Regions from separate parts of the Homo sapiens genome. Here all the other regions are linked to region 1. The links are contacts of gene promoters, found by promoter capture Hi-C in blood cells and fetal thymus (Javierre and others, 2016). All regions are on one chromosome and are shown on one strand. Each heading gives the region's core, a stretch centred on a gene start or on the middle of the fragment in contact. The rest is flanking DNA. Distances are from core to core; before and after follow the strand shown. Region 1 holds the start of GSG1L (GSG1 like). Region 2 overlaps AQP8 (aquaporin 8). Region 3 overlaps ZKSCAN2 (zinc finger with KRAB and SCAN domains 2). Region 4 has its middle 12 kb from the start of ZKSCAN2. Region 5 overlaps HS3ST4 (heparan sulfate-glucosamine 3-sulfotransferase 4). Region 6 overlaps HS3ST4 (heparan sulfate-glucosamine 3-sulfotransferase 4).

Region 1 (5,017 bases), core at 880-3,379:
AGACATTACTGGGAGGCAGCAGTGAACAAGACCAACCGGGCTGGCCCTCACAGAGTGACATCCTATGGGGAGTGGGGACTATAAGCTAGTGACCAAAAACAGGCCCCAGAAAATGTCAGGGAGTGCCAAGTGTGGCAGGGAGATAAACGCAGTGGTGAGATCCAAAGATGGAGACCCTCCCTCCAACGGGGAGCTCACAAGGTTGTCCCTCCTCAGTATCCTGACATGGAAGGCAGGTGGGAGAGTCCCAGTGAAAGGAGCCCCTGAAGAAGGAGGTGGGGCGGGGAAGGGCATTCCAGACAGAGGATGCAGCCTGTGCAGAGGCCTGGAGCTTTTCACTGGGTTCGCTTCACAGCTTCCTCCCTCTGCCCTCTAAACCACTTAGGCCACTGGCTTATTTAGGGCAAACTAAGGGTGGAGGTCTGCTGTAACCCACCCTTGAGCACACACATATGTGTGGTGTCCACACTGAGGAGCTAGGCATGCAGGGAGGAGTTTTAACCTTGGAGAAAGAGGTCAATTCACTCAGGAGGGTGTCCATGCCTGGACACCCGCTCAGAGATACCACGTCTTTCGGGCCAGCTCTACCTGCTGTGTGGCACAACCAGCTGTCCGGCAGCTGTCCCCTGGGCCCTGCCACAGCCCGGCTGTCTGCCTCCAAAACACGCACTCCAGCCCAGGCTGCCTCTGGAGGGTAGAGGAGGGGGTCCAGGCAAAGGGGACAGTCTGATCTGCCTTCTGAAAAGTCAGTCCCCCACCGAACCTAATAGGAGCCTTGTGCTAAGCTAAGCCCTCCTGGACTCCTCGACCCGGAGTTTGCCCAGCTGTCCCCAGTTCCCTAGCCTGCCTCTCCCAGGAGGGGGCCAGGATACAGAGGGCTCCCTGGCGTCTGGCAATAGGGGTGCCTCTGGGCGGGTGCGGCTTTCCGGGAGCCCGCGGGACTCCCCCACTCCCCACTCCCGTCTGGGAGGTTCGGCGTGGGTTGGCGATGGGGGTGGAAGGCTCCCGGGTCTGTGGATCTGCGGCAGGAGGGGCGGCTGGTAGCAGGAGTCCCTGCATCACCCCCACCCCCAGGGGCGTTCCGGGGTGGGTGGGGGCATCTAGTGCCCCGCGAAAGGAAGAGGAGGAGGGGGCGAGCGTGGAGATGAGTTCAGGAGCGGAAAGCAGCGCGCGCCCCTCCGACCGGCAGCGGGGGTGGGCGCCTTCCCGGGGCGCGGGAGCGTCCCCAAAGCCGCGGGGCGTCCGCAGCGGGTAGGAGCTCTGCCTTGCACCTCTCCACGGCGGGGCGTCCCGCACGTCCCCCCATGCTGGTCCCCGGCCCCGGAACGGCGCGCGCCCCCTGCCCCGGAACGTCGCCCCTAGCCAGGCGGAGCGCTGGGAGCTGGGCCCAGGCGGCGGGAGGAGGGCGAACGGGTCCGGGGCTCGGGCCTCGATGGCCGCGCCGCCCCGGGGGAGCCGGAGCCGAGCTGGCCGCCGCCCGCGCGCACTCACCAAGCCCGCTGAGCTCCTCCTCGCACGAGTACCAGATGCCGGTGTGGAAATTCCTGAAGAGGAAGCGGTCGTCGCCGGTCTCCCAGCTGTAGAGCGCGCCGCCAGGGGGGCCGTTCCCCGAGGCGGTGGCGGCGGCGGCGGCGGCGGCGGGGGCGGCGGTGCCGTTGGCCGTGGCGTTGGCGCCCGAGTTGGGGCAGTTGGCGCGCCCGCCCTGGCCGCAGCCCGGCTTGGGGACCCGCTGCGTGCCCTGGCACCAGTGCGTGGTGAGGAAAGCGGTGGTGGCGAACAGCAGCGCCAGCAGGTTCAGGGCCACGGCCAGGAGCGCTCGGCCGCGGCGGCTAGTCTTCATGCCGCCCGCGCCGCCGGGACGGGACTGCACCGCCGGGGAGCTCCGCGCGCGAAGTTGGCAGCTGGCGCCCCGCGTCAGCGGCCGCTGCCCGCCGCGCCCCGGGGCTCGGGTGCCTGAGATCGGCGGCGGCGGACGCGGCGCGGGCCCATGCCCCCCCCAACCCCGGGGTGGGGGCGCGGCGCGGGGGGCGTGCGGGGCGGGCTGGCGGGGCGGGCGGCGGTGGAGGAGCGGCTACGGCGCGCCCGGAGCCCGGAGCGCGAGTGCACCTCGGCTAGGAGCCGCTGGCGCCTGGCAGCGGCCACGGCGCAGGGACGCGCGCCCCTCCGTGGGGAGACACCTGCAGGCGGCCGGCGACACTGTTCCGGAGCCCGCCCGCACGGGGAGAGGGGGCCGCCACGCCGGGCGCGGGCGGGGGCCTGGGAGTGGAGGGACGCCCCCGAAAGAAATCCGAGCCAGGGTGAGGGTCTGAGACGCAAGGAGAATCCCAGGCAAGGCGCTCCTGAGAAAAGATCCCCACGGCGGACGTGGGGCAACAAAACCCGCCGGGAGCGGGCATCTCATGAGACCCAGAGAGGCCCTGCCCCAGGAGACAAGGGCAGAGCCTGCTGGGGCTCCCCAAGAGGGACACGGACCAGCAGGACCCTGTCCCAGAAGGGGATCCCCAAAAGGACCCCCGCACCAGACCCTGAGAAAGGAGTTTTTCCAAAGGTTCTAAACAGCAGAGCCTGCAGGGCTTCCCACAGCCAGGGAGCTGCAAGACCCCCTGGATAAGACAACCCATGCTGGACTTGGAGTGGCAGAATCTGTCAGGAGGCGCCCCTCCTGGAGTATTGGGTTATAGGGTTTGAAACGTTTTTCTGTCTCCTGGGTGTCACCTCCAGCATCTGGGAAGAGCTCCCCTCCAAGGATGAAACTGTCATCTGGGCTCCCAACCATGGCATGCAACTGCAGGAAGAGTGGCAACAGGGTACCCCAGACAGCCCACTGCACCCACCTGAGATCCCAAACAGCAGAACCCTAGGAGGGCCCATGCCGGCCACAAAGTTATTGCAGCTACCAGGCAGTGGTGCCCTACAGGGGCTGCCAACCCTGCTCACATGCACACCATGTGAATGTGGGTAGAATCTTCAAGATTCGGGTGGGGGCAGGGTGGCCAAACATACTGACTTTGGGATCAAGCATATCTAGGGCTTGACCAGCTGTGTGGCTTTGAACAGGTCACTTACCCTCTCTGAGCCTCAATTTCCATAACTATAAAAAAGGGAGGACCCCCCCCCCTTCAAGGTATATCACAGTGGGCTGCTGTAATGAGATCATGGCTGCAAAAAGCATTTGGCACACAGTAGACTCAATTAATAATTCACTGTTACTGACATCTGAACCAAGATCAGTTGACCAAACTCAGACAAACCTCTTCAGGCTCTCCTGTGCAACGTGGAAACTGTGTGCAACCCCGTCCCCACCTCTGCTCTAAGATGACCACGCTCCCTGAACTCCCTTCGCGCTGCACAGCACTTACTGCCCAGATGCTCAGGGCGTGCAACAATTAATTGCATGTTGATTATAAGAGCTCATTTGAATTCTGCCCAAGCTGAGAACTGCTCCGACAACCCCCGGCTTGCCGAGTGGCAGGCCTTGCAGAATTCAAGGTTAACCGATTATGAATTGCCTTACTCCTGTGGGTGAGCCGGCACCCACTGTCAGCTGCTGCTAATCTGCCGGGGGGTAGGTGAGAGGAAAACGTTGTGGGCAACGTCCCTGGTAAGAGCAGGCACGAAGGATGGCCAAGGGTCTCCAAACTTGCTTTTAGAGCCCTTTTCTGGCACTGTGCAAGAGATTCTCAACTATTTTGAAAGAGAGGACCTCCATGTGATAATGGTGGCATTGAGAGTATTGGTTGACAGAGAAAATACATCATCGCCAAACAGCTGTAAAGAATCCAGTAGCATCTTTTTTTTTTTTTTTTTTTTGAGATGGAGTCTCACTCTGTCGCCCAGGCTGGAGTGCAGTGGTGCAATCTCAGCTCACTGCAACCTCCGCCTTCTGGGTTCAAGCGATTCTCATACTTCAGCCTCCCGAGTAGCTGGTATTACAGGCGCTTGCCACCACGCCTGGCTATTTTTCATATTTTTAGCAGAGACGGGGTTTCACCGTGTTGGTCAGGCTTGTCTCGAACTCCTGACCTCAAGTGATCTGCCCGCCTCGGCCTCCCAAAGTGCTGGGATTACAGGCATGAGCCACCGCACCCAGCCTCCAGTAGCACTTTTAAACTGGCATGCAGTATTCATCATGAGTGTCTGTGTACCAATGAAAACCAGCCCCTCGATGTGTGCTAAACAGGGTACTTCTTTGGACTCGAGGCTGTGGTTGGTGTGCATGTGAGCAGGGCTCGGTGACCTACAGCTGGGAACCCTGTCCTGCATGTTCAAAGCCAGGAGAGCCCAGGTGAGATATGTCTCAGGGACCACACTCTCTCAAGAAACACCTGAGGATGCACAGAGGGATTTGGAATTTCCATCTAAGATGCTCCTCCACTCACTGAGCCACCCACTGAATGCTCAGCACTGGGAAGAAAAGAGAACGTGAACAAAGTTCGTAAGAAAGAACATCACTCAGAACTTTGAGAGGCCGAGGCGGGCAGATCACCTGAGGTCAAGAGTTCAAGACCAGCCTGGCCAACATGGCGAAACCCTGTCTCTACTAAAAATACAAAAATTAGCCTGGTGTGGTGGCGCACAACTGTAATTCCAGCTACTCAGGAGGCTGAGGCAGGAGAATCCCTTGAACCCCGGGGGCAGAGGTTGCAGTGAGCTGAGATCGTGCCACTGCACTCCAGCCTGAGCGAGAGAGCGAGACTTTGTCTCAAAAAGAAAAAAAGAAAGAACACTGCAGAGTATGCAGGGGTGAAAGCCAGGGAGAGCAATTCAGCAGGGAGGGATCAAAGTGGGGATGGCTTCAAGGAGGGCCTCACTGAGAAGGGGACATTGGAGCAAGGATTTGAAGGAGATGTAGGGGCAAGCCATGAAGACATCCGGGGGAATGGAAGTTCCAGGCAGAGGGATGGCCAGTGCAAAAGCCTCGAGGCAGGAGCCTGTCTGGCCCTTTGGGGAAAAACTGAGAGCACAGTGTGGCTGCAGCTGAGTGAGCAAAGGGCAGAGGAGGAAAAAAAGGGGGCGG
Region 2 (5,017 bases), core at 888-3,387, 2.8 Mb before region 1:
TTTTTTTTTTTGAGACGGAGTCTTGCTCTGTTGTTCAAGCTGGAGTGCAGTGGTGTGATCTCAGCTCACTGCAACCTCTGCTTCCAGAGTTCAAGTGATTCTGGTGCCTCAGCCTCCTGAGCAGCTGGGATTACAGGTGCCTGCCACTTCACCCCGCTAATTTTTGTATTTGTAGTGGAGATGGGGTTTCACCATGTTGGCAAGGCTGGTCTCAAACTCCTGGGCTCTAGTGACCCACCCATCTCAGCCTCCCAAAGTGCTGGGGTTGCTGGCGTGAGCCACCACGCCTAGCCCCATTACTATTTTTCAGCTGAACAAAGTGAGGCTCAGAAAGGTTCAGTAGTTCACGCAGGGTCGCACAGTAAAATCTGGCAGAGCTGGGATGTGGATGCAGGTATATCTAACTGAAATTGGACATAACCCTTCACTGGCTCTTAAGGTGGGTAGCATGCGTTTTTTAGGCCCTCTCCCCTCAGTTTCCAGCTGTCTCTCTGCCCCACTGTGAGGCTCAGCAGCTTCTCTGTGCAGGCGGTGAGTCCTGAGGAGAGGTTCTGGAATGCATCTGGGGCGGCCTTTGTGACAGTCCAGGAGCAGGGGCAGGTGGCAGGGGCGTTGGTGGCAGAGATCATCCTGACGACGCTGCTGGCCCTGGCTGTATGCATGGGTGCCATCAATGAGAAGACAAAGGGCCCTCTGGCCCCGTTCTCCATCGGCTTTGCCGTCACCGTGGATATCCTGGCTGGGTGAGTGTCCCTTGGCAGTGGGGTGACCATGCCCAGATCTGTGCTGTTCAGCTCTGGGGGATTTCAGGCCTGAGGGTCACAGATTCAGTTGCTATTAGGGGCCAGGAAGGTGCTGCAAATGGGGAGGGGGGCTGGCATCAGGCAGACAACAGGGAGTGGTGGGGACTGCAGTGTCAGAGGTGCTGCAGTCAGTTCAGCTCTTGTCAATTATTGCTGGGTACATGGGTCTGGGCTGATGCTTTCATTCAAAGGAAGTCAGAAATTTAAATCTGTATGTGATGTTTTCCAATGTTGGTAGCGTAAATACAACATTTCTGTGAACTGTGTTCATTCGGTCAGCGGGCAGCCGGGTTTTAGCCTCAGGCTTACAAAGAGCATGTGTAGCTGTTGTCTCATTTATTTTTAGACTCCCAGCAGGCTTTGGAAGGGATTAAGTAGACAAGATTGGGGATGATGTCTCCCGTTTTATAGATAAGGAAACTGAGGCTTAGAGAGGACAGAAGTGACTTATTTAAGGTCAGTGGGCAGTGGCAAATTAAGTGATAGATTTGGGACAAGAGGCTGAGTGAACCCTTTTAATTTTTGTTGTAGAGATAGGGGTCACGCTCTGTTGCCCAGGCTGGTCTTGAACTCCTGGCTTCAAGCCATCCTCCTGCGTTGGCCTCTCAAAAGTACTGGAATTACAGGCATGAGCCACAGTGCCCAGCCCAGGGAGCCCCTCCCTAATGTCTGACTCTTTCCTTTCTTTTGGACACAGAACCAAGTCTAACCTTTCTCCTGGGTCAGCTCTCCCTCAACTTTGGGAGGTGGAGCCTGGGGCAGGCTGGGGAATGTGTGTGTAAAGCTGTGGCCATGCTTTGCTGCCCCCTAGTGGTCTTTGATTCACTTACAAGCCCTTTTTTTTTTTTTTAGCTCCGCTTCCCGGGTTCACGCCATTGTCCTGCCTCAGCCTCACGAGTATCTGGGACTACAGGCGTCCGCCACCACGCCCGGCTAATTTTTTTTTGTATTTTTGGTAGAGACGGGGTTTCACCGTATTAGGCAGGATGGTCTCGATTTCCTGATCTCATGATCCGCCCGCCTTGGCCTCCCAAAGTGCTGGGATTACAGGCTGAGCCACCGCGCCCCGCCTACTTACAAGCTTTTTGACTTCGAAGCTGGACACAGGGTGGGGATGAGGTCTACAGGCCCCCAGCTGGAGAGAATGGGGTAAAGACAGAGCCCCAGAACGAGAGGAGTGCACCTGGGGAAGAGTCTCCCTGTAGGATTCTGGGTCTTAAGCTTGTGGTGCAACAAGGGCCTCATCTGGACCAGCTAGATTAGTTAATGCTTTTTGTACATTAATTATATTCGAGGTGTGGGCTCCATTTGCATTTTCTCATTCACTCCTGATGACAACCTATGGGATAGTCACTTTCACCTCACCTGAACACAGAGAGGTTCATGGAGGTTCCCACACCTAGAACTATCTGGGCTGGGGTTTTTCTTTCTTTATATGTATATTTTTAAAGCTTTGTGGGTGAACCTAGTAGGTGTATATATTTCTGGGTTACATGAGATGTTTTGGTACAGGCATGCAATGCATAATTATCACATCAAGGTGAATGGGGTATTCATCCCCTCAAGCATTTATTTTTTGTGTCACAAACAATCCACTTATACTCTTCGTTATTTTATTTTATTTTTAGTTTTAGTTTTTGAGACAGAGTCTTGCTCTGTCACCCAGGCTGGAGTGCAGTGGCATGATCATGGCTCACTGCAACTTCCAACCCCCAGGTTCAAGCAATTCTCCTGGCTTAGCCTCCCCAGTAGCTGGGACTACAGGCGTGTGCCACTATTCCCAGCTAACTTTGTATTTTTAATACAGACAGGGTTTCACCATGTTGGCCAGGCTGGTCTCTAACTCCTGACCTCAAGTGATCTGCCTGCCTTGGCCTCCTAAACTGCTGGGATTTCAGGCATGAGCCTCTGTGTCTGGCTGAGGTTACATGAGATGTTTTGATACAGGTATGCAATGTGTAATAATCACGTCAAAGTAAACGGGGTATTCATCCCCTCAAGCATTTATTCTTTGGGTCACGAACAATCCTATGATACACTTTTTGTTATTTTATAATGTGTGGGCTGGGTTTTGAATCTAGGTCAGCTTGACTCCAAAAGGATTGAAACTGATTGACTTTCCTTTGTAGACTTTGGAGCAAATGTAGCTCCAGCTTCTCTTCCTGCCATCACCCAGTAGGCATTTTTGCTGGGCATTCTAGAGGAGTGTGTGGGGAGTGCTGGACTGCACGCCCAGCGGGGAGCCATGCCTTCTGCTTCCTGGTGCTAATAGCCCCTCTGCCTTCTTTAGGATCTACCCAGGAGCTCATGATGTAGGAGTTTAGAGAGGGTTTCTGGGTGGTGTGTGACTAGGCCTAGTTGGGGACATGAGTGTGAGGTGAGGTGGGGTTTGGCTGGGATCCTGGTGACCTTGGTGCCTGGGTGTTTGCAGGGGCCCTGTGTCTGGAGGCTGCATGAATCCCGCCCGTGCTTTTGGACCTGCGGTGGTGGCCAACCACTGGAACTTCCACTGGATCTACTGGCTGGGCCCACTCCTGGCTGGCCTGCTTGTTGGACTGCTCATTAGGTAGGAGTGTGACACAGGGTCACCGGCCCATTGGATGGGCACTTGGCAACATCTCCCAGAGAGTCCGGGACTAGAGGGCTAGGCTCTCACTTGGGTTTGGAAGAGAAAAGAGGGAGCCTCTTTAGAGGCAAAGAAAATGGCTCCATCTAGGAGCTTTGGTTGCAAGTGACAGAGATCTATTTCAAAATAGCTTATGTCATAAAGAGGAATTCATTGGCTCACATCATCAAAAACTTCACAGGTAGCAGTGGTTTCAGGTGGCGCTCAAACAATGTCTTTAGGACTTGGTCTTTCTCCTTTTCTTTTTTTGACAGTTTCCCTCTGTTGCCCAGGCTGGAGTGCAGTGGTGTGATTCTGGCTTATTGCAACCTCCGCCCCCGGGTTCAAGAGATTCTCCTGCCTCAGCCTGCCAAGCAGCTGGGACTACAGGCGCCGCCACCACGCCCAGCTAATTTTTATATTTTTAGTAGAGTCGGGTTTTCACCGTGTTGACCAGGCTGGTCTCGAACTCCTGACCTCATGTGATCCACCTGCCTGGGCCTCCCAAAGTGCTAGGATTATAGGCATGAGCCACCGCGCCCAGCCAGTTTTTGTGATTTTTTTGGTAGAGATGGGGCTTCACCATGTTGGCCAGGCTGGTCTCCAACTCCTGACCTCAAGTGATCTGCCTCCCAAAGCGCTGGGTTACAGGCGTGAGCCACTGCACCCGGCTTCATTTAATTCTGGGCTTTCAGAGTGGCAGCAATGAGCATCTTCAGGAAAAGGGTTAGAAACCAAGCAGGACCCGGGCATGTGGTTCACGCCTGTAATCCCAGCAGTTTGGGAGGCCAAGGTGGGTGGATCACTTGAAGTCAGGAGTTGGAGACCAGCCTGGCCAACATGGTTAAAACCCTGTCTCTACTAAAAATACAAAAATCAGCCAGGTGTGGTGGTGCTTGTCTGTAGTCCCAGCTACTCGGGAGGCTGAAGTATGAGAATTGCTTGAACCCAGGAGGTGGAAGCTGCAGTGAGCTGAGATCATGCTACTGTACTCCAGCCTGGGTGAGTGAGACTCTGTCTCAATTAAAAAAAAAAAAAGAAACCAAGCAGGAAACTGTCTCTCTCTCTGCAAGGGGATCTGGCTATTAAGGCTGGGGAGGCTCAGGAAGTCATCTTTCTGGAGACTTCTGAGCCTGGAGACATGACGAAGGGCTGGGTCTCACCTCCGGGGCAGAGACCTTACTGGGTCATCTTTCTTGCAGGTGCTTCATTGGAGATGGGAAGACCCGCCTCATCCTGAAGGCTCGGTGAAGCAGAGCTCGTGGGATTCCTGCTGCTCCAGGTGTCCTCAGCTCACCTGTCCCAGACTGAGGACAGGGGAGTTCCTGCATTTCCTGCCAGGGCAGAGGCCCAGAGGAGCGACCCCCTGCTTCCACTGCTTGGGCCTGCTTTCTCAGATAGACTGACTGCTGAGGAGGCTCTAGGTTCTTGGAATTCCTTTGTGCTCATCAGAGACCCCAGCCTGGGGAACACGCTGCCCGCACTGCCCAGAGAGCAGTGCAAACACCACAACACGAGCGTGTTTCTTGAGAGGAATGTCCCCGAGTTGGACAAGGAGGCTGTTTCTGCACATCAGCTCATTTCCCGCACCCCATTTCTTGCTTGATTG
Region 3 (5,017 bases), core at 1,801-4,300, 2.8 Mb before region 1:
AAAGCTTTTTCCACAGTCAAGACATTTAAAAGGTTTTTCGCCTGTGTGGATTCTTTGGTGTCTGATCAGGCTCCTGCTTCTACCAAAGCACTTCCCACAGACACCACACTTGTAAGGATTCTCCTTGTGGTGGGTCATCCGGCACATCAGACGAGTGCTCCTTCCAAAGCTTTCTCCATATTTGAGAAGTCTGTAGGGTCTCTTCCCCACAAAAGGCCTCTGATGCACAACGGCTTTCCCTAAATCTCTAGGCTGAGACATCGGCTTTCCCTGTCTAATTCCTTGAAGATTTTCCCATTGTCTTCCTGAGATGCATTCCCTTTTGCGATATTTGCTGGGGTCGGTACTCTGGGAAACAACTCTTTTAGACTTTTCTATTAATGCCCTATGCTGTTCCATGTCCTTATATACTATCTGTGTTGGATCCTCCTTGATGCTACTTCCGATTTCAAAATCTGAAAAAATGAAAGACAATACAAATTTTATACAAGTCTGATATTAACCATAAACAACCTGGCTTGCAAGGCTTGATCCGCTTGCTCTCCATACACTTCTCTAACCTCAGATCCTGTGACTCTTCCCTGATTCATTCTGCTATATTTCTTTCCATTCATAAACAGGCCAATAACAGCCAGTACAGAGTAGGCCTTAAGAAATGTTTCCTGCATTATAATCCAAGCCATCATTCCCCATCCATATCCCGATTAACAAGGGTGCAACCTGGCTTATCTCCCTGAGGTTCCACTCTAATTCATCCTATTTTCATAATTTCACCTCTATACTAAAGCACACTACACCACACTGATCTCTAGATTAGATTCTGACTAAGTCCAAGTTCCTCGAGGGACTTCAGGAACTAAATTCCTCTACATATCTAATCATATCCCACCCAAGGGTACCTGTTTCTTTTCAAATGTTCTTCTCACTTTGTTTTTCAGGCTGTCCCATAAACCACACTAAATGAAATCTTAATTCTCACTGTTACCCAAATTGGATTATTTTCTCACTCTTTTCACCTACATCCCACGTTCACTACATCTTGGATCCAGATTTTCTGTTAAGTTTTCTGGACAGAGAGCATGACATGGTGAACAGAGACAAGTTTTGGAATTACACGGCTCTGAGTCTGGTCCCATCTTGGTGAGTTATTAACTGTGTGATTTTTGTATTAACTTATGGAAAATTCAAACACAGAAAAGTCTGGAGAACAGTATGTATAATGAACTCCCACAAACCACTTACCTACATTTAACTATGACCTATTCATGGCCAATCTCATTTCATTTCCACGCCCACATACTCCCTGCTCCCTCCATCCAGACTACTTTGAAGCCAATTCCAGACATCACGTTATTTCATCCATAAACATTTCACAAGCTGTGCAACTTAGGCCCAATTCAGGTTAATCCTTGTTCTTAAGCATCTGCTCTCCTGCCTTGTTTCTACTGCCAGTTTCAACATTACTTTCCTTCCACACATTCAGTAGAAACCACAGATAACTCTCAATCCCAAGTGTGGAGGCTGTGGCATGGGATGGGGAGAGGAGGGCAGCCATCAATCAATCTAGACACTTAAGTAAAAAGCCCTAACAATTCCATCTTTCACTTATTAGTACTTTTTTGGTCACCCAGGCTGGAGTGCAGTGGCATGATCATAGCTCACTGCAGCCTTGACCTCCCAGGATCAAGTGATCCTCCCACCTCAACCCCAGAAGTTGCTGGGATTACAGGTGCACACCACCACTCCCAGCTAATTTTTTATTTTTTGTAGAGATGGGGTGTATGTTGCCCAGGCTAGTCTCAAACTCCTGTGCTCAAGCGATCCTCCCACCTTGGCCTCCCAAAGTGTTAGGATTACAGGTGTGGGCCACCACACCTGGCCTGTCAGTACTTCTTTTGAAGTTTTCTGATTGAGTTCAACATTGTTCTGCGATTTGGAGGAAGTCACAACCTAGGAGTTGGCTCAGAGAAAGCTTGATAATTTGATGATAGGTTTGGAGCTCACTTTAAAAACAAGATTCACAAGGACTTTGTTTCCAGTTATCAAAGCCAGGGTTCTACAGGACTTAATTCAAGCCTTCATACTATAATTTCCCATATATATACTAAGCTAGAGTCACTTGCTTCAATAAACTAGTCCTGAATTACCCTGCATATTCAACTGATTGCCGAGGGCTTAATCTAGTGTTATGGGAAGACGGAGCTCCTGTCCTTCAGGAGCTCACCATGTCTGGGAGATCTTACATACAAAGTGTTCAGTGCCATAAGACAGAGACAGACAAAGTATGGGAGGTGAGAGAGAATTTGGACATGGAGATATGTAGAGCCAAGGACATTCAAGGTGGAGGGAACATCGCAAGCTAAAGTTTGGATGTGAAAGAGCTTGAGGTGCATGTAGGAAATAGCCAGTAGTTCCGCTCTGAATAAGCAGAGTTGAGGAAGGAAAATGCTGACATGTAGACTAGAAGAGTAAGATGAGCTCAGATCAAAAATGGCTGTGAAACCTTAATAAAAGTGTGGGTGGAGAAAACTGGTTTGGAGGCTTTTACAACAGTCTAGGCAAGAGAGAGAGAAGACTGAACTAGACAGTGGCTAATGGTAACTGAAGAGGGGACAGATAGACGTGATAGTCTGGATGAGGGCGGGAGCCCACAGGGAAGAGCCGTGGTGTGGTAAGGAAGATGGTGAAGTTAGTTTTGAACATCTTAAGCCTGAGTTACTAGTGACAGGCCCACGAGGGCGTAAGTCAGTGGGAAACATGCAGGTGGAGCTCAGGACCAGAATAAAGTCTTTTATTTAGTCTCTGCCTATCTTTTTTGTCTTGCACACCCCATATAACCATAAGATATTCTTCTTTTGTGCTTACTGAAACACTTTCTTCATCCAAGTTTTTTCTCATGTGTAATTCCAAGTTTTTCTTCCCCACGGTACTTCCAGGAGATACAAAACACTGTCTGACCCATACCAACAAAAACCAAGGCTGAGAACCCAAGGACTGAGTCACTCTAACGTGAGTTCCTCCTTTGAATAGAAGCACCATGAGAACAGGAACTTTGTTTTTTTCAGATGGAGTCTCACTCTATCACCCAGGCTGGAGTGCAATGGCACGATCTCGGCTCACTGCAACCTGCGCCTCCCAGGTTTCAAGTGATTCTCCTGCCTCAGCCTCCTGAGTAGCTGGGATTACAGGTGCCCGCCACCACACCCAGCTAATTTTTGTATTTTCAGTAGAGACAGGGTTTCGCCATGTTGGCCAGGCTGGTCTTGAACTCCTGACCCCAGGTGATCCACCCGCCTCAACCTCCCAAACTGCTAGGGTTACAGGTGTGAGCCACCATGCCAAGAACATCACTGCTATATCCCCTGTTCTTCAAGTAGCACAGGCACTCAAATATTTCTTGAATGAAGGAATATTCATGAGCTATGTGCAAGATCTACTCATTTTTCAGTAAATCACACTTATTCCTCTTTTGGACTAAAACTCCTTGGTTTTGCACCTTACCATTTGGGCTCTGCAGTAGACCTGGAGGTCCCTGGAACTCTGGCTCTTGCACAATTTCCTCCTCGCTCATTCTCTCACTGCAAGAGTCTTCTATTACTGCCTCCTGTGAGGTCTCTTCAGGTTCCCAGCCTGTAGGTTCCTGGGGTTCAACCTCAATACCCCCTCTTTCTTGCCTTGAAGGTGATGGGACTTCCTCTGGGGTGCTGGGGGAAGGAGCAGATGCCCGAGAGTTAATCAGGGCATCCATCTCCTTGTAGAACGCGCAGGACTCTAGCACGTGGCCATTTTTCACCTTGCGGTAACTCTTCTGAAGGCTTTTGAACTTGGTTCGGCACTGTTCTGGTGTCCGGAGGAAGCCGCACTCTCGAAGCTGTTCAGCTACAGCCCCATACAATTTGCTCTTCCGATGACAGGCTTGAAGCGCTTCATAAAACCGAGTCTCACGGAGGATATCAAGAAAAGTCTTGGTTTCTTCATAGCCCCAGTGCACGCCTGCCATTTGGGGATAAAGTTCACAATGTAACAAAGAAAAGGAGTCTCTAGCCTCTATACTATATACATTAAGAAATGTAGAGGTAAAAAAAAATCCCATTCACAGTGGCAACAAGAACTACATATGCCTAGGAATAAGCTTTGCAAGAAATGAGAAGGTCTATATCAAAATGTGTAATATCATAAAACTAGAAAAAATGACAAGACACTGTTTATGAATAGGAAGACTCAAGGTGTACAGATATCATTTCTCATATGAATCTATAGTCAAAATCCCATTCAGATTTTTAAAACTGAAATCGGTAAACTAATCTCAAAGCTTATTTGGAAGAATAAAAATGCAGTCCCCCAAATCTGCCATTGCTATGGTGATTAACTAAATGATTTAGTTCTCTAGAAGTCTCTTTCCAAAGTGGTTAAGAATAATGACTAGAATTTCCAATAGGAACTTTCCCCCTCAAATTTCCTACCACTTCTGTAAGCAGTCTTCCTTGAGGAGCAGAACTATGTTCAGAGTAGTTTTTGGATGTCATTGAATCCTCTACTTTGAGATGAAATGATCTGTAAGACAAGACTATGTTCTGCATTTATAGCAGAATAAAACTTTTCAGGGCATATCTAAATATAATTTGTAAAACATGCTTTTTGTATGTTTTGTAATCTATTGTAGGAAAAATCTCTATCCTCTATCTTACTAGGTGGTTTCTTCCAGGCCTATGACTGGATTCCCATATTTGAGACCACCCCAAGAGTCCCAGCCTCATGTTGATGGATTTTCAGATTGGTGAGACCTGTCTAGGCATAATGCATCTTCCCATCTTAGCAGATGTTTATTTTTTATTTTTTGAGACAGAATCTCAGTCTGTTGCCCAGGCTGGACTGCAGTGGCACAATCATGGCTCACTGAAGCCTTGAACTCCAGGGCTCAAGCGACCCTCTCGCTTCAGCCTCCTGAGTAGCTGGGACTACAGGAGTGTGCCACCATGCCTGGCTAATTGTTTTATTTTTTGTAAAGACGGAGTCT
Region 4 (5,017 bases), core at 1,432-3,931, 2.8 Mb before region 1:
ATGTGGTGGGCTGGACATGGTGGCCTATGCCTGCAATCCCAACACTTTGAGAGGCTGAGTCAGGAGGATTGCTTGAGGCCAATACCATCCTGGGCAACATAATGATAAAAATAAAAATAAAAAATTAGCCAGGTGTGGTGGCATGCACCTGTAGTCCCACCTACTAGGGAGGCTGAGGTGGGAGGAGCACTTGAACCCAGGAAGTGGAGGCTGCAGTGAGCTGTGATGGTGCTATGATGGCTGGTGGAGTGGGACCCTGTCTCAAAAAAGAAAAAAAAATGTGGCAGATCTATAACATGGAATATTACATAGCCATAAAAAGGATGAAATCATGTCCTTTGCAGCAACATGGATGGAGCTGGAGGCAATTATCCTAGGTGAACTAAACAGAAAATCAAATACTGCATGTTCTCACTTATAAGTGGGATCTAAACAAAGGTTACACATGGACATAAACATGGAGAGAATAGATTTTGGGGATTCCTAATATGGGGAGGGTGGGATGGGGGTGAAGGTTGAAAAATTACCTATTGGGTACAATGTCTGGTATTTAGGTGATAGGTCCACTAGAAGCCCAACCCACACCATTATGCATGTAATACCCTTGTAACAAACATGCACATGTACCCCCAAATCTAAAAAAAAAATCAAGTGAAGCACAAGCAAGGAACAGCTGCAAGGAAATCAAAGTTCCTTATGTGCAAGCCACACTTTTATTGGGTGCTCCCACTTTGCCTCTGTGAGTCCCTAGAGAGGTCCAGTGTTCCTCTTGGGGGATTCACCCAATTAACCATGTGCGTGTAGACAAGGGAATTTCCCTGGAGGCAGGGAAGTCCAGGTTGCTACTTGTCTAATAGCTAAAATGTATTGAATTTTTATTATGAGCCAGGTATGATTTTGACTATTTTATATGCAATAACTAATTTCGTTCTCATGCCAACACTGGGAGGTAGATGCTATCAATATTCCCATTTACTAACAAGAAAATTAAAGCAAAGGGAAGTAACATGCCCGAGTTCTTCTAGCTGCTGAGTAGAGGATCCTGGATTCAAATTCACGTGACCTGACTCCAGAGTTTGTGCTTTTAACCATTACTTTATGCTGCATCTAACCCTGTTATTTTAACTTACAATGACTGAAAAAGAAGGCAAATAAGCTCATTTAATTATCAGAAAGGACTTAATGCTCATCATTGCTAGTCAGGAATAGATTGAGAATGTAGAGGCTGCTGCCAGCATCTCTTTGTTCTGTGCATTACCTGTCAGGCTGAGTTTGCCTTTTGTAGACACAAGGAAATTCCCTTTATCTTGATTTCCATCCCTCTATTATTTTCTAACAAGGGCTCCAGCCTTTATCTGCACCTGCTCCTTTTTATCTGTCTTGATAAGACCCATTTTCCCCGAGTTCTCGCATTTTTCAGAGCAGGGTACCCAAAGACCATGAAACCTCTATGGCTAATATTGGTCAACTCTCATAGGATAACTTTCATGTATTATACTAATTATCTTCTTCCCGCTAGGAAAGAAGTTGAAGAGGAGGAACAATGGAAATGAAGGGGTTAGGGGATAGGATCTTGCCCCAATAGGATGGGATAAAGGGGCTGTGTGATTAGGTAGAGCCATGGGTTCTATACTTCAAGACCAGAATCTCAGGCTGGGATTCTATGAGTATTTCCTATAAGAAATGCTATAGAGGCCAGGTGCAGTGGCTCATGCGTGTAATCCCAGCACTTTGGGAGGCCGAGGCGAGTGGATCACCTGAGGTCAGGAGTTTGAAACCAGCCTGGCCAACATGATGAAACCTCGTCTCTATGAAAAATACAAAAATTAGCTGGATGTGGCGGTGCTTGCCTGTAATCCCAGCTACTCGGGAGGCTGAGGCAGCAGAATCGCTTGAACCCAGGAGGCGGAGGTTGCAGTGAGCTGAAATCGCGCCATTGCACTCCAGCCTGGGCAACAGAGCAAGATTCCATCAAAAAAAAAAAAAAAAAAAAAAAAAGCCATAGAGACTTGGAGTGGCTTAGAAACAGAAAATGGCAAATAGCGACCTTGGCCAGATGTGCCTGGATTTGAGTCTGTGAACTGCCCATTTTCCACTGTTGGCCCAGGACTGAAACAAGCATGTGTAAAAGGGGCTGACCGGTTATTTCCAAGTTAAGTAAACTTCTCCCTCTTGTCGCTCAGCACATGAGTTCGTATGGGAGGTTGAGTATCATTCGTGAAATCCATATCCTGATGTTGGAATCCCCGATTTTTTTCTCTTATGAACACTGTCAGATGGTGCCAGGCTGTCCCTCCAGCCATCTGGTTTGGTTTGGGGGTCAGAGGTCTGGCAGTGTCTTCATGTATGTGGCTGATTCTGTGCATGTCTTGGGAGTTTGGGTAGGTGTAAGCAAGTAGGCAATTAACTACCCAAATCAGGAGGTCTGAGAATGGGCTAGTGGACAGAGCAGGAGCATTGCTATCTTGGACAAACCCCACCATTTTAAATTCCCCTTGATTAAAAAAAACCTGCCTAAATCCAGCCCCCAAACATCAGCCTAATGGCTAATGTTAGCATAACCAGAAACATTCCAACCCTAAGATAAACGCCACTCCAACCAGAAACATGCCGACCCCAAGATAGCTTCACCTCCAACCAGAGACTTTCCAACCCCATGATAAACTTTCCCTCACATCGAAACATTGCGAACCTACGATAAGCTCCCCACTTCCTATATCCTTAAACATCTTTAGTCTGTAAGAGAGAGTGCCCCCGATCAAAACTGGTCAGAAACCCCTCAGGTTTATTCTCCAAAAGAAACTGACTTTGAATGTTAAGCTGCTTTTCATGTTTCTTTGCTCTTTAACTCTTACACTAGTGGGTCATTTCCCAAGTGTGATGCTATCTACACTAGTTTACCATGGTTGCTGAGAAGATAAAATATATGCCTGGACCTGTTGTTAGTCTACTAGGTTGCTGTAAGGAGAGTCTTCCAAGAATGAGGCAAGATAAAAAAGCAGAGGGTGCCACAGAGTTTGAAGTCATTATTTGAGCTCCTAGATGCAACTGCACCTGAAACTAGACCCCTGTCTCTAGGTTTTTGAGCCAATATATTCCTTTGCTTTGCTTAAGCCACTTTGAATTCAATTTCTGTCACTTGCAACCCACACAGTTCTGACTGATATACAAAATAAACATATTACATGTTATCTTCTGTGACTCAGAAATTATTATCCATTTTTACAGATGAGGAGTTGGAGTTTTAAAGGTGCAGGTAACTTGCAGTGAAAAGCTAAGGTCTGGCACAAGGTTGATCTTGAATCTGAAGAAGAAATGGTTCAAAGTCTCCTTTAGAGATGCTACCTTCCTGCTGCTCACTTCCAGAATTTAGTCAGGGAATTATTGGGCTGACTTGAGTTGTTGTGTATACAGTCTGTGAACTTGCAGTTTATGGTATTTTATAATTTTGTTTTCCCTGCCGTTCTGCTAATGCAGCTTTGTGAGCAAACATTGCCTGTGATTTAAATCCACCACCGTAATGAAACGCACACACACACATGCACACACACTTCCTTGGAACAGTCCACAGCTCTCTGATTAATCACATGTGTACAGTACAGTGTTTACAGGAAATCAGCAGGTGGCAATTAGCATCTTGGAAATTATCTGGGAAACACAACTGGAGCTGCCACTTCAGGATGGAAATGTGGCAACAACCGGCAAAGTGACAAACCCCTTGGAGTTGGAAATGAATGGGGCTGAAAGCGCTGCCAGGCACACAACAGCTGGTGGGGGCAGCCCGGTGTGGACTGCAGACTGCCTGCTAGCTTCTTCCTTTTCTTCCCAACGCGTAAGAAGCAATCCTTGAGTAGAGACATGTAATAGATGCTCAGACCTGGCTGGACATGGTGGTTTATGTCTGTAATCCCAGAACTTTGGGAGGCTGAGGCAAAGCCATGAGTTCAAGACCAGCCTGGGCAACATAGTGAGACCCTGTCAGTGCCCCCCCACCCCCCAAAAAAAAAAATTACCCAGGTGTGGTGGGGCATGTCTGTAGTCCTAGCTACACAAGAGGCTGAGATGGGAAGATTGCTTGAGACCAGGAGTTTGAGGCTACAGTGAGCTGATTGCACCACTGCACTCCAGCCTAGGTGGCAGAGTGAGACCCTGTCTAAAAAAAAAAGGAAATGTTTTCAACAATGACCAAATGGAATGAAATAATGTTTATTCAGTATGTATCACAGTATCTGCCACATAATTCTCAATAAATAGTAGGTATTTTCAATTATTATTTAGATCAAGGCACAGGCAGACACTGGCATTACTGTAACACTTGTTAAAATATTAAGCTATTTCCATATCAGTTGGAAAACAGCTGCTTTCTTGAACCCTCTGAGTGGCTCCCCACTGCTGCCCTCCCTTGGGAGCCACACTCTTCCGGATCCAGTGATCAAAACGTTAACGTCTCAATCCTGCTCCAGCGATAAGTCCAGTGTCCATTCTGATTGGTCAGTTTCTGTGCTGTCAGGACTCTTACTGCTCAGGAGTTTCAGTGACCACAAGAGAAAGCAGCAACACGAGGATGGATGTACTGAAAGGAGTGAGGAGAGGAAACAGTGCCAGTCTGTTTTATACATGAGATGTTCTTCATCAATAATTGAAAACAAATTCAATGCTAGTTGGTATGGTTTGGCTCTGTGTCCCCACCCAAATCTCATCTCAAACTGCAATCCCCACATGTTGAGGGAGGGACTTGGGAGGTAATTGGATCGTGGGGGCAGTTTTCCCAAAGCTGTTTTTGTTTTTTGAGACAGTTTTACTCTTGTTGCCCAGGCTGGAGTGCAGTGGCACGAGCTCAGCTCATTGCAACCTCCACCTCCTGGGTTCAAGCAATTATTCTGCCTCAGCCTCCCAAGTAGCTGGGATTACAGGTGTCCACGACCACACCTGCCTAATTTTTTTTGTATTTTTAGTAGAGACGGGGTTTCACCATGTTGGCCAGGCTGGTCTCGAACGCCTGACCTTAGGTGATCCA
Region 5 (5,017 bases), core at 1,605-4,104, 2.2 Mb before region 1:
CACCACTGGGTCCTGAGCTTACTGCTGGAGGCTGTTCAACTCCTTTAGCTCCACATTGGTATTCATAATATTCCAGAATTTTTGGTCTTTTGGAACCCACTCAACAGCATTGTGTGCAGAGACCTGTGTGAACGTAAGACTGCCATATGTGCTAACTGTGTTCACCTTATTCAGGCTCTGGATGTCCCAGATAATGATGATATCATCTGCAGAGCCACTCTAGGATTTGGTCTCTGGATGCAAAGCTTCATCATCATACTAGCATTTCTTCTAGTGTATTCTGTCACTGGAGTTGGTAAATGAGGCCCATACTTTGATGTTTTAGATGAACCGCTGAAGAGTAGATCACTCATGGAATAGTTGTGACAGGTGGTGTCCTGGTGTCCCACCAGAAATTCTTTGCCCTTTAAAGTCTCTAGGGTCTTAGAATCTTAGGATCCCCCTGTGTAGGTATGTGTTTTCCTGGGATATTTCATCATTCAGCTTGGGCACATCCCACAAGAGCTCTATAGTGTCTTTGCTGAGTCTTAGGATCTCATCCAATATGACAAACTTGAGGTGAACTTATTCTCCAGATGGCTTGTTTTTTCCTAGAACTTGCTCATTATGGAGCTCAGAAAGATGATCTCCTGCCCCTGCTGGCCACGTGCATCTTGTAGAAATGGCCTTTTTTCTGCTACAGAATTTCCTTCTGGACCTCAAGAACTCCTTCAGGCTTCAGAGCAGCATAGCTTCAAGTATGGGTGCAGGTGCCTCTTGTAGGTGTCTGTTCCTCATAAACTTGCACCCATATTTGGAGTGTCTCCAACTACAGTCACGTTCTGAGGTACTGGAGGTTAACTTAAACACATAATTTTTCTTTTTGGTGGAGAGACACAATTCAGTCCATTGCATGCAGATAAAGGGAGGACATGGCTCATAGAGGCCTGGAATTTCCCCCTGGTGGGTCTAGTGAAATGGGGAAGGGGTTGGGTGGCAAGGATATTATTGAGGAAATCAAGGATATCAAGGAAATCAAGGATATTATCAAGGAAATTGCAAAAATAAGAACCATGGACCAAATGCACCTAGCAAGGGAAATGAACATGTGAGGAGTGGGGTGGGGCTAGGGCACTATAAAAAAAAGGAAGATAGTCTAGGAACCAGTGACAAAATGTCTTGGTGAGGTCAACAAAGGAAGCAGTTGAATCGTCAAGTTGGAGGGATAGGAGCCTGTGGCTGAAGGGAGGCATGATTATTTTAGTAATTTCCCGGGTGATTTTAATAGCTTTCATGGTATATAATTTCCATGAGTGGGTTTATCTCTTTATAAATCAGACATGCTTGCCCTTTTCAAGTCTTCCAGAATGTGCCATTTTCAAGACAGTGATGATCCTCAGTATTACCTCCAACCTCAGTGAAAAGCTGCAGTCCTCGGTGTGCCTTTGTTTGCAAGTAACAGAGGATCATTCAAACTAGGCTACAGAAAAAAATAAAAAAGAAAAGGAAGGGCACTTTATTATATGGACTCAAAGATAGAAAATGGAAGTTAATAAGAAATAGAGCCAGACTTCTCAAGAGGCTAGAACCAGAAATTGAAAACCCAGCAGGGACGAGACACTAGGACCAATAATCAGAAAGCCATTGAGATCCAACGTAGCTGCTCTCAGACTCTTTCTTGGAGCCATTTGGTCTTTCTGTGTGTCAGTTGCATAGAAAGCCACACGGTCCTACAAACTGGCTTTCTCCTTGTCCGAGCCAGTAAGGGATCAGCTCCATAATAGTGTCAGAGTTTGCAATTCCTTCGTTCAAGCAATAAGCAGAGAGTGACTGCCATCCATACCCTGATCGACACCTGCAGGTGTCTATGACCCAGGCAGATGTCATTTAGGTGGGACAGGGAAGGCCACAGCATTCACTGACAAGTCAGAATACAGTTCCCCAAATTCCTTTGAAGACTTTCCTGTCTTTCAAAACTTACTGTTAATTGTCAATGTAATAAACAGAATAATGCTGTCTTCACAAAAAAAAAAAAAACAACAACAAGCTTTTGGTTTCTATCTTAGCGGAAATCAGTTATTTACTGAAGTAATCATTTGGACATAAAGTCCCAAAAAGAGGTTCTTAGAATAAAAACCACCAAGGATGCTACATTTAGCATATTCTCGTTTCTCCCTTACATTAGATAATTTTAAAGTTTAAACTTTAAAATGGTAAAGTTTTAAAGTTTCCTAATTTGTAGAAATTTCTTTCAAGAGTCAATCTGGCCTACTATGTGCCAGATTGATTTGTGAATTTTAGCTCATTTAATATTCACAAGATGCTTCTGTGAAATTATCCTCCATGTTAACAGATGAGGAAGCTTGTCACAAGCTACGGAGCTAGCAATCAGCAGAGCTCGTGTTGAAACCAAGTTTCAGATTCAGAAGATACTAAGTGAGGAAAGCTTCTTTATGAGGAGAGGAGGTTTCTTTTTTTTTAACTTCTATTTTAGGGTCAGGGGCACATGAGTAGATTTCTGATAGAGGTAAATTGTGTGCTGCAGGATGTACAGATTTGGTGTACAAATTATTTTTTCACCTAGATAAAAAGCATAGTACCTCATAAGCAGCCCTTCCCTCCCTCCCTCCCTCCCTTCTTCCTTTCCTTTCCTTCCTTTCTCTCTCTCTTTCTCTTTCTTTCTTTTCTTTCTTTCTTGCTTGCTTTCTTTCCTTTCTTTCTTTCTTTCTTTCTCTTTCTTTCTTTCTTTCTTTCTTTCTTTCTTTCTTTCTTTCTTTCTTTCTTTCTTTCCCTCTCTCTCTCTCTCTCTCTCTCTCTCTCTCTCTCTCTTTCTCCCTTTCTCTCTCTCTTTCCAGCGTCTTGCTCTGTCATTCAGCCTGGAGTGCAGTGTCATGATCTCAGCTCACTGCAACCTCCGCCTCCTGGGTTCAAGCAATTCTCCTGCCTCAGCCTGCCAAGTGGCTGGGACTACAGGCACCCGCCACCACAGTCAGCTAGTTTTTGTATTTTTAGTAGAGATGGGGTTTCATCTTGTTGGCCAGGCCAGACTCGATCTCCTGGGCTCAAGCAATCCACCCACCTCAGGCTCCCAAAGTGCTGGGATTATCGGTGTCAGCTACTGTGCCTGGCCCCCGATAAGTAGTTTTTTGATGCTTACCCTCTTCCTACCCTCTGCCCTCCAGTAGGCCCAGGTGTCCATGTGCAAACATACTTGAGGTTCAGCTCCTACTTATAAGTGAGAACATGTGCTATTTGCATTTCTGTTCTTGTGTTAGTTTGCTTAGGGTAATGGCCTCTAGCTAGAGAAGCTTTTTTACTAGTCAGTTTTGTGAACTTGGACAAGTGATTAAACTTACTTGAGCATTAGTTTTCCCATCTTTATGGTGGATCATATGAAGAACACTATAAGGTTCATGTGAGAATTTAATGCACGTGAAAGTGCCTGTTGGGGTCTTCAAGGCAGCTTGGGTTGAGCAATAAATAGCATTCCTCTCTTCTGCCTGAGTTCTAAATAAAGACCAAGAAGTGACAGACAGAGGCAATCACGTTATCTTTATTACTGACCAAGGGCAAATGGGGAATACGGCTTAGTGTGCAACAAGTGTGTCTCTTGGCTGAATTCCCACATGAACATTAAGGTTGTTACCTACTTAGGCACAGACAGATAACACTTGATTGGGAGAAGCCTCCCTTCATGGAGACTTGCCTAGAATAAGAATTTACTGTATGAAGGAGCAGAGGAGAAACCCTACATCCTTTGGGCAGCTTGCTGCCTAGAGGAGAAAAGACATTTTGCCCTAAATGTGACAATCAGGAAAATCACTTCATTTCTATCAGGGCAGAGTAGGCACATGGGTAGAGAGAAGCCAAGAGTATTTAAAATACACTATTTCATTTTTATTTTTTAATTTTACTTTAAGTTCCAGCATACATGTGCAGAATGTGCAGGTTTGTTACGTAGGTATACATGTACCGTGGTGGTTTGCTGCACCCATCAACCCATCATCTAGGTTTTGAACACTGAATGCATTAGTTATTTGTCCTAATGCTCTCCCTCCCCTTGCCCCGACCCTGCAACAGGCCCCGGTGTGTGATGTTCCCTTCCCTGTGTCTGTGTGTTCTCATTGTTCAACTCCCACTTACACGTGAGAACATGCAGTGTTTGGTTTTCTGCTCCTGTGTTAGTTTGCTGAGGATGATGGCTTCCAGTTTCATCCATGTCCCTGCAAAGGACATGAGCTCATTCTTTTTTATGACTGCATAATATTACATGGTGTAAAATACACTATTTTAAAAAATTATTTATTTATTTTTATTTTTAATTTGTTTTTGAGTTGGAGTCTTGCTCTGTCGCCCAGGTGGGAGTGCAGTGGTGCAATCTCAGCTTAATGGAACCTCTGCCTCTGGGGTCCAAGCGAGTCTCCCACCTCAGCCTCCCAAGTAGCTGGGGCTACAGGCACACACCACCACGCCTGGCTAATTTTTTGGATTTTAAGTAGAGACGTGGTTTCGGCATGTTGCCCAGGCTGGTGTCGAGCTCCTGAGTTCAGGCAATCCACCCCCTTCAGCCTCCCAAAATACTGAGATTACAGGCATGAACCACCACACCCAGCCTAAAATACATTAAATGGGCTCTTCCACATGGAAAAAAGCCTTAGTTGAAGAGATAAACTGTTACTTTTTTATAGTGCCTGGAAGATAGTAGACAATAAAAGTTAGCTAAAAACAGAACCAAAGTGGTTATCAATGTAAGATCAGTGCACGTTTCACGATGCCACATTTACATTGCTTTTCTTTTCTTTCTTTATCCTCTTTCACCATCTTGGCTTTTGTAAATTTTATCACCCCAATGGAGATTTCTTGTTTGAAGAATCATACGATGTGTCCTGAGCCTCTGTCTTGCCCACATCTTCTGCTTACAGGTTCTCTCCTCTGCAGGGGGAGGCATCACCTGTTCTTCTCAGAACCCCAGATTTAGAGCTCTGACCCCTCTGACTACTTCTCTGAGTTTGTCCTTCTATATCCAATGACTAAGTTG
Region 6 (5,017 bases), core at 1,520-4,019, 2.2 Mb before region 1:
AAGGTGATCAGCTTTGACACTGCTTGAACTTCATTTTAACGGGTTTTGAATGGCCTCTCTCATGTTGCCCCAGTCTCCTAAAGTTTGTACCCTGGATTCAACCTGAGACAGTAGACAATATTTTGCTCCAGTGTAAACTTTATGTTGTAATTCTTGAGCATATTTGCAAATGAGTTAAAGTACTAATTTCTAACTGCTGAACAGGTAAGGCAGATTTTTCACATGTTTGTTTTTTAAATCTCCCAAATAAATATATGTTTATTAAACAATAAAATAAAATAGAAGTATAAAAACAGAAAACCGTGTTGTCCCCTCCCTGGTTCACTATCATTCTCCCTAGATGTATCCATTTTTTAATGCCTTAGTATCTGTCCTCTAAGATCGTTGTTTATGCTTTTGCAAAGACACATTTATCGTTTTGTTGCTTATTAAACAAAATTGGGATCATGCATTCATTCAACTAGAAATTTATTTTTATTCATCCAGGGATTCTTTACTGAGTGCTAGTTTATCTGAAATTTTATTTTATTTTAAAACAACATATCTTGGCCAGTTTTCTATATTAGTCCTTGTAGTTGCTCTTATTCCTTTTAATTTCTGCTAGTGGTTATTCATGTAGCCATTTCTTTAATGATGTTCATGAAAAGCATTTCCATTTTTATATCTTACAGAGTCTGGTAGTGATCATTTGTGAACATGAATCTTTGAGCACACACACACAATAGGAACGCTTTTACACTATTGGTAGAAATGTTAATTAGTTCAACCATTGTGGAAGACGGTGTGGCGATTCCTCAAAGATCTAGAACCAGAAATACCATTTGACCCAGCAATCCCATTACTGGGTATACATCCAAAGGAATATAAATCATTCTATTACAAAGATGCATGCATGTGTATGTTCATTGCAGCACTATTCACAATAGCAAAGAGATGGAATCAACCCAAATGCCATCAATGATAAACTGGATAAAGAAAATGTACATATACACCAGGGAGTACTATGCAGCCATAAAAAGGAACAAGATCATGTTCTTTGCAGGACATGGATGAAGGTGAAAGCCATTATCCTCAGCAAACTAATGTGAGAACAGAAACCCAAACACTGCATGTTCTCACTTATAACTGGGAGCTGAACAATGAGAACACATGGACACAGGGAGGGGAACATCATACACTGAGGCCTGTTGGGGGGTGGGGTTGGGGAGGAAGAGCATTAGTAAAAATAGCTAATGGATGCTGGGCTTAATATCTAGGTGATGGGTTGATAGGTGCAGCAAACCACCATGGCACACCTTTGTTACCTATGTAACAAACCTGCACATGTACCCTGGAACTTAACATAAAAATAAAAATTAAAAATAAATGTAGGCCGGGCACGGGGATTCATGCCTGTAATCTCAGCACTTTGGGAGGCTGAGTCTGGCAGATCGCCTGAGGTCAGGAGTTTAAGACCAGCCTGGCCCACATGGTGAAACCCTGTATCTACTAAAAATACAAAAATTATCTGGGCATGGTGATGAGCACCTGTAATCCCAGCTATTCTGGAGGCCGAGGCAGGAGAATCGCTTGAACCTGGGAGGTGGAGGTTGCAGTGAGCTGAGATCGTGCCACTGCACTTCAGCCTGGGCGACAGAGCGAGACTTCATTTCAAAACAACAACAACAAATGTAAGAATCTAAGAAGAGGAAATGCTGGGTCAAAGAGAAGACCCATTTAAAATTTTGATTAATTGGTGCCGAAAAATTGACTTTCAAAATGATTGTGCCAAGGAATCCAAGGAATAGCATGTAATAATAATAATAATAATAATAATAATAATAATAATAGAATTCCCTACTCTCTCAAAGCCTGGATATTGTATTTCTTTCTTTCATTCTCTTTGTCTTTCTCATTCTCTCTCTTCATTTTTGCCAATCTGGAGGCTGAAAAATGCTATCTCACTGTTTTATTTGTCCTTTCGAATAAGTTTATTCTTATAAATTTAATGCACATTTATTTGTTCCTCTTTTTCTCTGCATTATCTATTCGGACCTTTACTCATTTTTCTATTGGGTTGTTTGTCTTTGTGTTAGGGTCCCTGTTTTGCTCTTATTATGTTACTGTTCGTATTTGGAGTTGTCCCCTGCAAGGAACAAAGAGCTGGATTAACAGTGACTTAAACAAATAAGGATTTATTTTTCTTCCACAATGAGAAGCCTAGAGGTAGGAGGCTGTTGGCATTTGCTCTGTAGCTCAGGCTTGTCAGCAGTGCGGTCTCTTTCTTGGCTTTTTCCTCTTGATCGTAAAGTAGCAGTGCCAGTGGCATCTGTCCTTTTTATCAGAAAGCTAAAGCATTCCCAGAAGCTGCAAGGAAGTTTATGCCTAGAATGGAGGTAGGAAAAGTCAAAATAAATTGGTGAGGAGTTTTGAGTTGACTAACCAGCAGTTCCTGCAATTTTGGTATTAATACCTTGTGTTATTTGTTAAATTGTGTTTTGTAACCTGGGCGACACAGTAAGACCCTGTCTCTACAAAAAATAAAAAATGTAGCTGGGTGCAGGGACAGGTACCTATAGTTCCAGCTACGCAGGAGGCTAAGGTGGGAGGATCTCTTGAGCCCAGGAGTTCGAGGCTGCAGTGAGCCATGATCACACCACTACACTCCAGCCTGGGCAACAATGTGAGACCCCATCTCTTAAAAAAAAAAAAAGTTGTATTTTTTTTTCCCCAGTTTGCCATCAATATCTTAAGTTTGTAGTATCTTTCAGCCCACAGATATTTACATCTTGAAGGCAGTGAATTCTGTTATATTTGTTTATAATTTGAGTGTTCATTCTTTCTATAACAGAAAATTAAAAAAATTTTCTAATATAGCCATAGTTTTGATTATATATATCTATATTTTTAATCAATCTATAATTTATTTTTATATGCAGTCTGATGTGGGAAAATACTTCTCATTCCCCCAACAGTGGAGATGAAGTTTTCTCAATACCGTCGTCAAGTTTTCCGCATGTGCACTGCATGATCTGTTTTGGTACTATCTGTTGTGTTCCACTCATTCATCTCTGTACTGGAATCCTATTCTTTTAATTACTACAGCTTCTTATATAGTCTAATGCTAATGTCTAAAACAGCACATACACTTCCTATTTTGCTCTCCCATCAACACGAGTTTTTTTTTTTTTTTGACTCTTTTTTTCACATTTACAGGTAAATTTTACAGGCAGTTTATTAGCTTTCTTTAAAACATCATATTGGAATTCTTAGCAGGATTACATTGAGACAGTAGATTAATGTATGATGTTTCAGTCAAGGAACATGGCATGTCTTTTAACTTATTTATTGTTAAATGTACTTTAGTAAGTGTGTGTAGTTTTTCTTCCATCCTATACATTTTTGTTAGGTTTATAACTAGATATTTTATATTGTACCTGGTTCATAATTGGGATCCCCCCCATATAAATTGTTATTAATGCTTAGGAGAACTATTGATTTTTGTCTGCAGTCAGCCACCTTAAATTATTTTGCTATTAATTTCAAAAATTAAGTTGAGTTTAGTAGTTTTTGTTGGGTCAAGAATGATAACACATGCAAATAGTGACAGTTTGTGACTTTCTTTACAATTTAACTCCCTTCAGTTTTGTTTGTTTTTGACTTGGTGCAATGTCTAGAATATCTAAGACAATGTTGAATGTTAACCGTGATAATCAACTTTTTAATCTAATTCTTTATTTTAATTGAAATGCTTATAGTGTGTCACTCCTGAATATATAGTTGTAGTAGATTTTTGCTAATACTCTTTATCAGTTAAAATAAAATCTGTTTCTAGATTGCTGTGAACTCTTCCTGGGAATTCAGGTAGCTCTTTGTCAAGATTTTAAACATTTATTAAGGTGAACATATAGGGTTTGTCCTCTTTTAAAAAAGAAGGTGGCTAATTTCAGAAATCCTAATGATGGATCATTATATCATTCCTGAGAAAATCCTATTTGGTTCTGTCGTTTCATTTGGTTAAGACATTGCTAAATTAAAATTACTTATCTATTTGTTACAATTTTTGGTATTTATATTTATGTATTTAAATTATTCTTTTGAGGGTCTTTACTGCTGGTAAAATACAATTTGGTTTTTGTATCAGTTTTATGTTTGTCTTTGAGAATGATTTCAACAACTTTCTTTTTCAGTGTTCTAAAATAATCACAGTGAAGTACAGATTACATATTGTGAGAATGTCAGTAGAACTCATCCATAAAACTATATGGGTCTGGTGATTTGGGAGGGTTAGGTATTTGCTAACTTTTTTTTTTTATTTTTTGAGACAGAGTCTTGCTCTGCTGCCTAGGCTGGAGTGCAGTGGCACGATCAAGGCTCACTGCAACCTCTGCCTCCCGAGTTCAAGCAATTCTCCTGCCTCAGCCTCCTGAGTAGCTGGGATTACAGGCGTGTGCCACCACGTCCGGCTAATTTTTTGTATCTTTAGTAGAGATGGGGTTTCACCATGTTGGCCAGGCTGGTCTCAAACTCCTGACATCAAATGATCCGTCCGCCTCAGCCTCCCAAAGTGCTGGGATTATAGGAGTGAACCGCTGTGCCCAGCCTAATTTTAAACGAAAAAATAATTTTTTTTTTTTGCTTTTTCTAAGCCCTTTTTGAGTTTACTTTGGTAATTTAAAAATCCTTAATAATGATCCATTTAATCTAGATGTTCAGATTTATTGATGTAAATTTATATCTAGTATAAACCTCTCCCACATTTGTAGTTATGCCCTCTTCATCATTCTGAAGATTGTTATTTGTGCTCTCTTTATTTCTTGCCAGGTCTTACAGAAGTTTGTTTATTTTATTGCTCTTTTTACAGAGCTAGCTTTTAGTTTCATTGCTGCAAATTCCTATTTTTCTTTTGTTTTCTGTTTCATTTATTTCTGCTTTTATCTTTATTCCTTCTCTTTTTTTTGTTTTACTTTCTTCAGTTTTTTTATTATGGTTTTCATGGTTCCTTTTCCAGCTTCCTGAGTTGAATGTTTAGTTCATT

The links. Contacts are between HindIII fragments. The CHiCAGO score rates a contact against its expected background, and 5 or more counts as called.
Region 2: a fragment that was not itself captured here is called in contact with the fragment with the promoter of GSG1L in region 1 in 1 of 17 cell types (non-activated CD4 T cells); the score reaches 6.5 in non-activated CD4 T cells.
Region 3: a fragment that was not itself captured here is called in contact with the fragment with the promoter of GSG1L in region 1 in 3 of 17 cell types (naive B cells, total B cells and activated CD4 T cells); the score reaches 11.0 in naive B cells.
Region 4: a contact is called between a fragment that was not itself captured here and the fragment with the promoter of GSG1L in region 1, in 1 of 17 cell types (non-activated CD4 T cells). The highest score is 5.8, in non-activated CD4 T cells.
Region 5: a contact is called between a fragment that was not itself captured here and the fragment with the promoter of GSG1L in region 1, in 8 of 17 cell types (naive CD4 T cells, total CD4 T cells, naive B cells and 5 more). The highest score is 13.9, in naive CD4 T cells.
Region 6: a fragment that was not itself captured here is called in contact with the fragment with the promoter of GSG1L in region 1 in 8 of 17 cell types (non-activated CD4 T cells, total B cells, total CD4 T cells and 5 more); the score reaches 14.7 in non-activated CD4 T cells.

The regions. Positions count from the first base shown.
Region 1 is chr16:28,061,585-28,066,601 of GRCh38, forward strand. GSG1L (GSG1 like) reads right to left here and starts at 2,130. Exons shown (of 7, transcript NM_001109763.2): 1 at 1,492-2,130. The coding sequence starts at 1,840. The HindIII fragment of the contact is 8,058 bases long and covers 1-5,017 here.
Region 2 is chr16:25,223,834-25,228,850 of GRCh38, forward strand. It overlaps AQP8 (aquaporin 8), which reads left to right. Exons shown (of 6, transcript NM_001169.3): 4 at 529-743; 5 at 3,235-3,369; 6 at 4,611-5,017. The coding sequence ends at 4,659. Among named protein-coding and RNA genes, the nearest start is that of AQP8, 9.4 kb to the left of the region's middle. The HindIII fragment of the contact is 230 bases long and covers 2,023-2,252 here.
Region 3 is chr16:25,240,284-25,245,300 of GRCh38, forward strand. ZKSCAN2 (zinc finger with KRAB and SCAN domains 2) reads right to left here. Exons shown (of 7, transcript NM_001012981.5): 6 at 3,502-3,993; 7 at 1-455. Among named protein-coding and RNA genes, the nearest start is that of ZKSCAN2-DT, 15 kb to the right of the region's middle. The HindIII fragment of the contact is 2,160 bases long and covers 1,971-4,130 here.
Region 4 is chr16:25,267,169-25,272,185 of GRCh38, forward strand. No RefSeq gene overlaps it. Among named protein-coding and RNA genes, the nearest start is that of ZKSCAN2, 12 kb to the left of the region's middle. The HindIII fragment of the contact is 6,566 bases long and covers 1-5,017 here.
Region 5 is chr16:25,825,532-25,830,548 of GRCh38, forward strand. The region is part of intron 1 of HS3ST4 (heparan sulfate-glucosamine 3-sulfotransferase 4); the gene reads left to right. It also overlaps the pseudogene LOC100420641. Among named protein-coding and RNA genes, the nearest start is that of HS3ST4, 140 kb to the left of the region's middle. The HindIII fragment of the contact is 862 bases long and covers 2,424-3,285 here.
Region 6 is chr16:25,843,857-25,848,873 of GRCh38, forward strand. The region is part of intron 1 of HS3ST4 (heparan sulfate-glucosamine 3-sulfotransferase 4); the gene reads left to right. Among named protein-coding and RNA genes, the nearest start is that of HS3ST4, 150 kb to the left of the region's middle. RefSeq lists a silencer at 748-1,005. The HindIII fragment of the contact is 8,837 bases long and covers 1-5,017 here.